4 separate regions of the Homo sapiens genome follow, and regions 2, 3 and 4 are each linked to region 1. Evidence: promoter capture Hi-C in 16 types of primary human blood cells and fetal thymus (Javierre and others, 2016). All regions are on one chromosome and are shown on one strand. Each heading gives the region's core, a stretch centred on a gene start or on the middle of the fragment in contact. The rest is flanking DNA. Distances are from core to core; before and after follow the strand shown.

The links. Contacts are between HindIII fragments. The CHiCAGO score rates a contact against its expected background, and 5 or more counts as called.
Region 2: a fragment that was not itself captured here is called in contact with the fragment with the promoter of MEGF9 in region 1 in 4 of 17 cell types (total CD4 T cells, naive B cells, erythroblasts and 1 more); the score reaches 6.2 in total CD4 T cells.
Region 3: a contact is called between a fragment that was not itself captured here and the fragment with the promoter of MEGF9 in region 1, in 9 of 17 cell types (erythroblasts, activated CD4 T cells, monocytes and 6 more). The highest score is 9.5, in erythroblasts.
Region 4: a contact is called between a fragment that was not itself captured here and the fragment with the promoter of MEGF9 in region 1, in 1 of 17 cell types (activated CD4 T cells). The highest score is 6.5, in activated CD4 T cells.

Annotation. Positions count from the first base shown.
Region 1 is chr9:120,713,116-120,715,836 of GRCh38, reverse strand. It overlaps MEGF9 (multiple EGF like domains 9), which reads left to right and starts at 1,367. Exons shown (of 6, transcript NM_001080497.3): 1 at 1,367-2,079. The coding sequence starts at 1,479. RefSeq lists a silencer at 830-1,679. The HindIII fragment of the contact is 2,825 bases long and covers 632-2,721 here.
Region 2 is chr9:120,988,665-120,991,707 of GRCh38, reverse strand. C5 (complement C5) reads left to right here. Exons shown (of 41, transcript NM_001735.3): 23 at 428-517; 24 at 1,928-2,140; 25 at 2,587-2,662. Among named protein-coding and RNA genes, the nearest start is that of C5-OT1, 37 kb to the right of the region's middle. The HindIII fragment of the contact is 2,287 bases long and covers 215-2,501 here.
Region 3 is chr9:121,046,585-121,049,570 of GRCh38, reverse strand. The region is part of intron 1 of C5 (complement C5); the gene reads left to right. Among named protein-coding and RNA genes, the nearest start is that of C5, 2.2 kb to the left of the region's middle. The HindIII fragment of the contact is 632 bases long and covers 1,376-2,007 here.
Region 4 is chr9:121,029,670-121,032,593 of GRCh38, reverse strand. It overlaps C5 (complement C5), which reads left to right. Exons shown (of 41, transcript NM_001735.3): 6 at 399-481; 7 at 2,107-2,197. Among named protein-coding and RNA genes, the nearest start is that of C5, 19 kb to the left of the region's middle. The HindIII fragment of the contact is 3,012 bases long and covers 3-2,924 here.

The DNA of each region.
Region 1 (2,721 bases), core at 118-2,617:
AGACCAATGACTAATGGGAAACCATGCACAAAGCCAAACATCACGTAGGGGAGGCCGGGATTGGGTTAGCAGTGGGGCTTGAATTAAGCCCCATCAGATGACAAACCCGCCCTGCCTGGCTTCCTCTGGAAGCTGCTGAGCCGAAGCAGCAGCGCCTGACCTAGCTCTGGATCCTGGGCGGATGATGCGAGGCTGCGTGCCCGAATTCCAGCTTGATTCAGGGTTTAGTGTCATCCAGGGTCAAGCTCGGCTATTAGCCCCACCCCAACCCCTGCAACCAGCCGGAGGCTCTGGGGGCACTGAAGGGCTGTGGCCTGGGGCTGCTTTCTAATCCTGGGCTTGCCCTGGCGCAAATGCTGAGAATAGTTAGCATTAATGAGGGTTACAACAGTGGGCCAGGCTCTGGGCTAAGCCCTTTACGTCCATGACTTAATTCTCACAACAGCTCTGTGAGGGGGGTGGGGGGTGAGGGGTGTCCTATCATCTCCATTTTAGTGGTGAAAAAACCGCGCTCAGGCCACAAAACCATTCAGCAAAAGACATCAAGTTGAGGTTCAACCCTGTCTGATCCTATTCTTCCCGGGGTTTAGGTAAGTGTGCTTGCGAGCCTGTCTCCTCCACGCAGGAAGCTTGCACCTTCTGCCCTCAGGGGTCTCCACCGCCCGGTCCCGCCCCCTTGTCCAGTCTGGCACAACACCTGGCCCACAGCAGGTTTCTGGTGAGGGCGTGGGTCTCGGTTCAGGGAGGCCCTCAGCAAGGGCCTCAGCTTCCCCATCTCTGAAATGGGAATGGCGGCAGAGACCTCGCAAGGCTGCGACCAGGCTCTCTGGAGCAGCAGAGGGCATGCCAAGCTCTACATCGTCGCTGCCGCTGCCCTCTCCCATCGCGGGGTTCCCGCGCGGTCCCCGCCCGAGCTGGGGTGCGGCGCTGGCGCCCCATTGTTCAGGAGGGCGGGGATGCTCCCGAGTGCTGATTCCACCCCCCGCTCGTGCTCGCAGCCCGGTGGAGCAGATGACTAGGCCCGGCGTCTGCCGCGCGGGGCGCATCCTTTGTCTGCTCCGCGGCGCCCGGTGCCCGAGGCCCGCGCCCCACTCTTTGGGCAGACAAAGCCGGGGCCGCCGCGAGCCCGGCGGGCTAGAGCTGGGCTCGCACCACCCTTCTCCCGCCTCACGGACCGCCCCCTCTCCTGGACGTCCTCTGATTGGCCTACGGGGCTACAAAGAGGCCGGGAAGCGGGCGGATCACGTGGGCGACTGTGGCTTCCCATTGGTTAGGCGCGGCTGCCAATCGAGGAGGGCGGGCGGTCCGCGCTCGGTCCGGTCGCTCCCTCCGCGCTGGGGCCCGCCCGCGGGGCCGGCCGCCTGTCAGAGGGAGGTGGCGATGGTGCGCCCGGTGGCGGTGGCGGCGGCGGTTGCGGAGGCTTCCTTGGTCGGATTGCAACGAGGAGAAGATGACTGACCAACCGACTGGCTGAATGAATGAATGGCGGAGCCGAGCGCGCCATGAGGAGCCTGCCGAGCCTGGGCGGCCTCGCCCTGTTGTGCTGCGCCGCCGCCGCCGCCGCCGCCGCCGTCGCCTCAGCCGCCTCGGCGGGGAATGTCACCGGTGGCGGCGGGGCCGCGGGGCAGGTGGACGCGTCGCCGGGCCCCGGGTTGCGGGGCGAGCCCAGCCACCCCTTCCCTAGGGCGACGGCTCCCACGGCCCAGGCCCCGAGGACCGGGCCCCCGCGCGCCACCGTCCACCGACCCCTGGCTGCGACTTCTCCAGCCCAGTCCCCGGAGACCACCCCTCTTTGGGCGACTGCTGGACCCTCTTCCACCACCTTTCAGGCGCCGCTCGGCCCCTCGCCGACCACCCCTCCGGCGGCGGAACGCACTTCGACCACCTCTCAGGCGCCGACCAGACCCGCGCCGACCACCCTTTCGACGACCACTGGCCCGGCGCCGACCACCCCTGTAGCGACCACCGTACCGGCGCCCACGACTCCCCGGACCCCGACCCCCGATCTCCCCAGCAGCAGCAACAGCAGCGTCCTCCCCACCCCACCTGCCACCGAGGCCCCCTCTTCGCCTCCTCCAGGTGAGTCCGGCGCTCCCTCTCGGGCAGGACCCGTCCTCACCTCAGCCCCGGCAATCTAGGGTTGGGCTCTTGCCTATAATTTATCGTTTGTTACCCCAAAGACACCCCAGGTTCCGGCTCCCGAGGGGGGATCCCAGGTCCAGCTAGTCTCCCTCCCGCCCCCGATCAATCTGGAAAGTCTTTTGTCCCCCGTGGGCTGTGCTCCCTCGGGAGGGGGTGGCTGCTGGGTGGAAGGCATCTCATCTTCTTCCCAACAGGGCTTTCTGGCCTTTTTCAGAGACCAGAATGGGCGCAAACTTTTGGGTTGGGTTCGCGCACCCAGCCTCTCTGCCTGGGTTATTTGGGGAAGTTTGAAAGCCCGCATAGTACCTCCTTCAACCACTGGGTCAAAAGCTGAGGGTAAGGAATTCCTCCCAAAGCTCCAGTTTCCCTGTTCATTTCTTCTTGTTTATGTAAATATCAGATGTGTGTGTATGACAGGTGGAAGAGAGGTAGTGAGAGGATTTTGTTTACAAACAGTAGTATGGACCACTTGAGGGCAAAAAATAAAAACAAAAAAGGCATTGTAATCCATGTTGTCCCTGCAAATAAGTGGATTCAGTAGGTCATTTGGGACAGGTGTGTATCTAGGCTGAGCACATT
Region 2 (3,043 bases), core at 109-2,608, 280 kb before region 1:
ACTGGGAAGGGAAGGTGGAAAGAATTTCAGATCATACTTCCCTGTGGAGCTAATGTTCAATATATAGTTGATTAAGAAATTACATGTTAGTTATTCTTAGCTTTCAGTTCCAGGAACAATTTTCTGTCTTTGGGCAAGCTGGCATGCTATATTTTGCTGGTGAATAAGATTTATATAACCTATTTATTTCACATCTTATAATGACCAGGAAGCTTACAGCCAAATTTAATGCTTTATTTAATAAGATTATACAAGCCTAGGGTTTGATTAAAGTCCTTGATGATTTTTAACTTTCTTTTAAAATTTTAATAGTCTAATTATAAGTCTTTTATTTTGAAATATTCTTTGGAAGTAGATACATTATAAATAATCTGCAAACAGTCTTCCCCTGGAAACTCTGTATAAATCCAAATTTTCTAAATTACAGGTACCATTAGCAGACGAAAGGAGTTCCCATACAGGATACCCTTAGATTTGGTCCCCAAAACAGAAATCAAAAGGATTTTGAGTGTAAAAGGTAAATTAACAAATGCCATTTTTATTTCTCATTTCACTTGGTGCTTCAAACAAAAATCAAATATCCTCATGATTATTCTGTTTCTCCACTTCCGTGTTCAGTAGCACACACAAATCTACCTTTAGGAGTGCTCCACCCCTACCCACCCCCACTTTCAAACCTTTAATCACTTTTCCCACTATCTTCTTCCAACGGCCTGATTTACATGGAGATGCATTCTCCTCCAATGGAAGGTAGGGACTGTCATTGGCTCAAAGATGTCTCTAAAATGGGGGTCCAGTTGCTTCTAGACTTAAAGAACTTTCCATGGTCTTAGTGGCCAGTCCCGCTCCAGAGAAGGCCTATGGCCTGCACATGGCCTAGCGAGAACAGCACTGCTCTGCTGAAGTACTGGTCCCAGAAGGGTTGTCTTAGTCCATTTATGCTGCCATAACAAAATAACAAAATTTATAAATAATACAAATTTATTTCTCACAGTTCTGGAGGCTGGGAAGTCCAAGATCAAGGCATCAAGAGATTGGGTGTTTGGCAAGGGCTGCTCTCTGTTTCCATGAGGATATATGTTGCTGTATCCTCCTGTGGCAGAAAGTGGAAAGGCAAAAGGGCAAAAAGGGGTGAAGAACTTCCTCTTACCTCGTCTATAAGATTATTAATCCCACTCATTAGGGTGGAGCCATCATAACCTAATCACCTCTCAAAAAGCCCCACCTTCTAATACTATCACCTTGGTGATTAGGCTTCAGTGTATGAATTTTGGAGAGACATATACATTCAAACCATAGCAGGGATTCTCCTCCCCTCGCATACATTTGCAGAAGTGATATTTGCACAAGTGACTAGGTTTTCCTTAGTCTCCAGGCTTTACAATTCAATAACATATTACCGAATGATAGAATGTCCTGACTACATTTTATCTCAGATAAAACCCTAGAATCACAAAATGTTAGTACTGGAAAGGATCTTTTTGATCATGTGCAACCCTGCTGTTGGATATAAAAGAAAGTGGCATGTCCAAGGTTGCACAGTGAATTATAGACAGTCATGTCAGCACTCCCTGTTCAGGCTCTTTGCTTTGCTTCCTGGAAGGGATTGGTAAATATGGTTTATAATGTCTAAAGCTAACAGGTTGAATGGCAACTAATTTGCCATGTTCTCTTGCAGCAATCAGTCCACTGTATTACATTACCTACCACCATATTTTAGTGATTTTTAAAGTCTTTTTTTTTTTTGTTTCTTTCAAATTCATGTTCCTAACCGGATCTTTTTTTCTCACCCCGTTTCTGAGAAGCAAGTCAACTGCCTAGATAAAAAGGGAAGAACCATCTCTAGATGGTTGTTCTTCTCTCTTGAGAACATACTGTTAGAAGTTAATAAAAAGCAATGTGTCTACTTTGATCTTTTTTGTTTCAGGACTGCTTGTAGGTGAGATCTTGTCTGCAGTTCTAAGTCAGGAAGGCATCAATATCCTAACCCACCTCCCCAAAGGGAGTGCAGAGGCGGAGCTGATGAGCGTTGTCCCAGTATTCTATGTTTTTCACTACCTGGAAACAGGAAATCATTGGAACATTTTTCATTCTGACCCATTAATTGAAAAGCAGAAACTGAAGAAAAAATTAAAAGAAGGTAAAAAAAAAAAGTATTTCACATAAAAATTGGGTGATTCTAAACTAATATTTTTATTAAACTAATATTTAAGTTGTGAATTATAGAAAACTTTGTAAGAGAATTTTAGCAAAAAAATCATGAGATGGACTCTACTATATAAATAAATATTATTTCTGTAGCATTTTGGCTCAACTTACCAAAATGCCTGAATGAGAGGCAAGGCACCTGCATTCCAAACTACAGAACACTTCCTTCCTTTTCGAATGAGATCAGAATGTTCTACTTGATAATTCCCAATTCGAGCAATTCATATACTTCCTTTGAGAAGTTCAATGCTGGCCACAGAGCATATGCTTGCTGCCCAACACCAAAGGAAGCTTACCATTCTCAGGGCCTGATAAAGTGTTCTTTGAGTAGAAACGGAGGTCTGTTAAGCACCGTGTTCTTTTTCTTGTGCTTCTTAGGGATGTTGAGCATTATGTCCTACAGAAATGCTGACTACTCTTACAGTGTGTGGAAGGGTGGAAGTGCTAGCACTTGGTAAGTAGAAGATTTTGAGTTGCATTTTCATATAGTGGTTAATTAACTAAAGAATAATAACCATAATGGAAACTCCATTCCTCCAGTTGCTCAGGCTAAAAGCCTCGTCATCCTTCACTCCTCTCTTTCTCTTACCGTTCACATCTGATCCAGCAGATATGGATTCAAAATATATCCTTAATTTGACTACTTCTCACCACCTCCACCACACTATCCTGTTCCAAGACACCTTCCTCTCCCACCTGGATTCTTACACTAGTCTCCCTTAGTCTTCTGGGTTCAGCCCTTGATCCTCTTCAGTATATACTCAACACAGCAACTGAAGTGACCCTGTTAAAACATATGTTAGATCATGCCACTCAAAACCATTTAGGAGCTTCC
Region 3 (2,986 bases), core at 442-2,941, 330 kb before region 1:
CCAAAGGTCACAGTTCTAGAGAGAGAGAAACAGGATTTTTATTAAGGTCTCCTGTTTATCACTTCAATTTTTTTCATTTTGTCATAAATGTATACATGTAAATATATTATATATAAACACATACTTAGGATGTCATTCTTTTTTAGCACCCTCGTATTTCTGATCTGTGATCTTTTTACATGGCCACAAGCACTCAACTACCTTAGCATCCTGCCTTTATTCTTTTTGAAAGACGAGCAGCTAAGGCTTAGAGAGACTGAAATTAAGTGACTTCAAATTGGTGGCAGAACTAGGGCTAGGACCTGGGTTCCATGATTCTTGTCCAGACTTATTCTGAATTCTTTCTACTAGCCCTTAATAAAAATTATTTCCTCACTTTCTCTGAAGAAGTCAGAGTGTACCATTTACAACATGGCAATCAATCACTTTAATTAATTGGTTGATTGATTGATTCAACAAATATTTATTGAGCATCTAAACATATGATAGGCACTGCAGATATAGCAAACGGTAAGACAATTCCTAGAGCTTGCATTCTAGTGGGAGAAGCAAGTAATGAATGAATGAACCAATGAAAGAATGTGTAAGGTCAGGTAGGTAGTATTATGAAGAAAAAAATAAAGCAGAGTATGAGAATTAAAAAATAATTATGGGGCACTATTTTAAAATGTGGCCAGGAAAGGTTCTCTTAAGGAGGCTGCACTCAAACAGAGCCTGAAGGAAGTGAGGAAGCAAACCATGCAAATATTTGAGGAAAGAGCATTCCAGATAGAGGCCAAAATAACATTCTTGCCTCTCTGCAAGCTCCTGCTCCTCTGCAGCAATTGAAAGACAAAGAAAACTATGAAATTATTTATATGGATAGATTATGCTACTGATAAGTCAATAAGAACCAAAATCTTTATAAAGGGTGGTTCCAGAATATTCTTTTAGGGGCTTCTAAACACTATGTATTTTTGCTTGACGGCTACCATCACATAGACCAGCAGTCCCCAACCATTTTGGCACTAGGGACAGGTTTTGTGGAAGACAATGTTTCCATGGACCAGGATTGGGGTGGGGATGGTTTCAGAATGAAACTGTTCCACTTCAGATCATCAGGCATTATATTCTCATAAGGAGCTTGCAATCTAGATCCCTCGCATGTGCGGTTCACAATAGAGTTCATGCTCCTAGGAGAATCTAATGCCACCACTGATCTGACAGGAGGCAGAGCTCAGGTGGTAATGCTCCTTTGCCCCACTGCTCACCTCCTGCTGTGTAGCCTGGTTCCTAACAAGCCATGGACTGGTATTTGTCCATGGCCCAGGGGTTGGGGACCCCTACCATACACAATTCAAAATTAAAGCAATACTAAACTTAAAAACATAAAGCTTCTATAAATACTGAAATTAAAGTAGCTTTATATCCCTAAATTTTTCTAATTACAAAACTCTTTATAAATTCCATTTAGTACAACAGTTGAAAATGTTAATTCTGGAAACGGGCTGCTCAGGTTCGATTTCTAATTCTATAATTTGTGAATTATAGAATTCATAAATCCTATATGTGTGGCCTTGGGAAAATTAATTAGCAGTTTCTTCACCTTAAAATTGGAGTAATAGTTCCTCACAGAGTGGTTGTAATGACACAATGAGTTTATACAAATAAAGTATTCAGAATAGTGCCTTATCACAGGGCAAAATTTCAGTAAATATATCTTATTATCATAAAAACTGAACTCCTCTCATTTTCTGCCATCTCCTACTAGGCATGTGGGGAAGGGGAATTCAGATGATGGTTGGAAATCTGGAAATTCTTTCCTCTCTTTTGTAATTTGCCTGTAAGTGGATCCAAATTAATTGTAATGCAGGATAACTGTCAGATGCTTTAAAGGATTTAATTGCTGATAAATTAATTCCATTGTTACTAAAAACTTCCTGCTTTTACCAGACTCTTAAAATGTCACAATGTTGGCAGAAGCCTGGAATAATTCTGCCAGGTGGGGTGGTGGGTGCCCTCCAAGCTTGTTGGGCCACTTGAATTAGTCGATCACTATGCCCTTTTGGGTTAAAACACTTTTTTTTCCTATGTAATAGCGTATGTAGTTCTCGCTATTCAAATTAGATACTCTTGTGATATACACTTAGTAATCCAGTTTATATTTGTAAGTTTTTAAATAAAATAATTTTTAAAAATCACTCAAAAGCATGTATAGACTCACTTCCATTATTGTATAAATCACATGAAAAGTAAAAATAAGAGAACAGTCTATGGTTGTGAATAACATATAAACTTGACCTCAACTGTACACATAACAACTGAGAACTCATATAAAGGCCTCCCCCATTTACTTACAAACCGTATAACCTTAGCCAAGTTAGCCTTTTACCACTTGCAAAGTACGAATAATGATAGTACCAGCATCATTGGCTTATTGTAAAAATTAACAAGAGCTGTATGTAAAGTGCTGATACAGCCTCTGATATGTGGCAAGTACTTAATTACCATTATTGTTTGAAGATGATGATTTGCTCTTAAAGGACCATCATCACTATTTCCATTTCCAAATGCACTTCCCAGCTCACTCATATTCTATCCTTTCCGTTATCCGTTTACTAGTATAACATAGTATTTCTAAGATCACTCCCTTTAAACTAATTTAGTGAGATTAATAAATCTTAACATGTATTGAGTACTAAGAGTGCTAGACCTTTTCATATATATGTTCTTATTTAATCTTTACCAGAGCCTGGTAAAGAAGGCGATTATTTTCACAGTAAGTTATTTTAGCCTCAGAAAGACTTAGTGACTTTACCACGGTCACTCAGCCAGCAGATGCCACAGCTGGAATTCAATCACTGCTTTTTTCTTCATTGAGCAAAAAATATTGACCCCATTTACATGTTCTGGTCAACATGATTAAAAGTCTTCCTTGGCTGCAGTAGCTAAGAGAAAGTGCTGCTATCACCTTAACTTTCTAAATGTAAACTAAACCTCCAGCTTC
Region 4 (2,924 bases), core at 259-2,758, 320 kb before region 1:
CTTGTCTTGTATTATATGTTTCTAGAGACGTTATTATGGATTTTGTACTGTATTTTGGATTTTAGTATTATGTTAGCATAATTAGGCTCCAAGATTAAATAAATTCTCAGAAATAATAAGTTCTTCAAATCAAAACTAATGACTGTATTAAGATAAAATACCAGGAAAAATAATACAATATATGAAAAACTGGTTACTAAACAATATCTATTATCTATTATCCTAAAAATGCTCAATTATTTATTGCTTAAAAATCAGTCACAAATAAAATATATTACTTAGGTTTTATATATCTTTGTGTATTCTTCCCTCTTTAAAACAGGAATTTATTAGATCTCCTCTGAGTGAATTAAAAACATTTGATGACATCTATAATTTTAAATATTTTGCTTCCACAGATATGGTATGTGGACGATCAAGGCTAAATATAAAGAGGACTTTTCAACAACTGGAACCGCATATTTTGAAGTTAAAGAATATGGTAATTTCTGACAAGTAAAAGTTTTTCTTTGCTTTTTGTTTTTTGTTTTTGAGATGGAGTCTCGCTCTGTTGCCCAGGCTGGAGTGCAGTGGCACGATCTCAGCTCACTGCAACCTCCGCCTCCTGGGTTCAAGCAATTCTCTGCCTCAGCATCCCAAGTAGCTGGGATTACAGGCACCAACCACCATAGCCGGCTAATTTTTGTATTTTTAGTAGAGACAGGGTGTCACCATCTTGGCCAGGCTGGTCTTGAACTCCTGACCTCGTGATCCACCCACCTCGGCCTCCCAAAGTGCTGGGATTACAGGCATGAGCCACCGCACCCAGCCAATTAAAAGTTTTTCTATAAAAAGTTAGTGTTTTGCAATAATTCTTTTTAATAATGTAGTTAATGCAAAATTATTCCCAGATGAAGATGAGGCAGCCTGTACGTATGGCTAGAAGTACTGGCTAGAGGTTGGAGGGAGGAGTAGTAGTTGAATGCCTAGATTCTAGTTCCAGCATGCCTTTAACCCTGATCAAGCAGAACAACCTCTGTGTACTTGTGTTCCCCATCAGAGAGCTGGAAGAGATCTAGTCCCCTGAAGAGCTTGACTAGTAAAGATCCTTTCTAGAATTGTGATTATTATTAGGAGAAACTTAAATAGTCATAGATGAGGTGAGTGGAACCCAGTAAAACCAATAAATGATTTACTTGAGTCTTAAAACCAATTAGTGACAAAACAAAAACAACAATTAGGTTTCCTTACCCCTAGTCCAACACTATTTTCTGGCTCCTAAATTCCTAATATATTCATTTGAATATTTAAGATATTCTTATTTTGAAATAAATTATATTAATAGACTAACAAGTAACGTAAATAGTTTAATCTTTCATTTCTTATAGTAGTTTACTAGCATTTCTGTGTGCTCTGCTATCAAATTTAACTTTCTTCTGCTTGAAGCCATTTTTTATTCCCTCAAGAGATTCATAATGACATGGAGAAGAATAAATACTGACACAAATTTTAACAATTAACAAGAAAAACAGTGACAAAACAAATTCGTTATGATGAAACTCAACCTTAAAGATTACAGGCTCTCTGTAACATATAATCCTAACCCATCTCCCTTCTTCTAAGTGTTTTTGTATTTTCTCTGTATATCTAGAATCCACCCACCTCTTACTGTCTGTAGCCACTCTCATCAATTCATCAGCACTCTCCCTCCTGGACTACAGCAAAAGCCTCCTAACTGATGTCTCTGCTTCCAAGCTATCTTGCTTGGTATTAGCCAAAATAATCTTGAAATGCAAATTTCATTATGTTATGTCACAATTGAAAAGTTTTTTTGTTTTCAAGGAACCTATACTCTAATGGAAGAAATAACCTATTGCCTATAATAAATGCTGTAATCAAAATATAGGCAAAGTGCTTCTGGATTGACCTCTGATTGTTGGAGTGGGAAGGTTCTGCAGAGATTGTTGTTGGTGATGACGATGATGACGATGATGATTATGATAATAAAGTGGATGTTGTGTTGATGTTACAGCTTGTCCAACTATACCAGAAAGTCTAGCTGTTTGCTAGGCTTTAAAGTCTGCTCTAATCAAAATGGTAATATTACCTGTTTGTTTTTATTTTCAGTCTTGCCACATTTTTCTGTCTCAATCGAGCCAGAATATAATTTCATTGGTTACAAGAACTTTAAGAATTTTGAAATTACTATAAAAGCAAGGTAAGAACATTTGTTTTTTTGTTGTTTTTATTTTTATTTTTCAAATTAACTCAACTCTGGTTGATGATAGTTGCCCAAAGTGAGATCTGTGATTTATTATCAAAGTGTGCCATGATTTGGGGACTAATTGATAAAGGAGACATCATGCTGGTAGTTCATTTGCTTATTCTGATTTTAGCTGATTCTGAGTTTAGCTTTGTTGGCTATTCAACAGCAAAAACAAAGAAAAGTGCCAAAGATCTAAGTTTGGTGTATGTGTTTAGAAACTAGGGTAACTTAGAATATTGGGACTGAGATATGAAGGATTCACTTCCTATCTTTTTTTAATGATTTAATCAGCCAGCTAATGCTGCGTAACTACTTCAAAACCCAGTGCCTTGAAACTCCCACATTTATGAGTCAGCTGGGAAGTTCTGCTGATCTGGGCCAGGCTGGTGTCAGCTGGGCTCACCCATGTAGCTGCAGCCAGTTGGTAGGTCAGCTGGGGGCTGGCTGGTCTAGGAAGGTCCTGTCCATATGTCTGGCAGTTGGATGGGGCTAAAAGTGTGTGTGCCTCTCATCATCCAGCAGGCTAGCTTGTAGCAGCAGCAACACTCAAAGAGGCAATGGAAGCATGAAAGTCCCCCTGAGCCTAGGCTTGGTGCTGGCACACCATCACTTCCACACATTCTTTTGTCCAAAGCAAGTTACAAGGTCAGCCCAGAGGAAATAGACCCCTCCCACACTT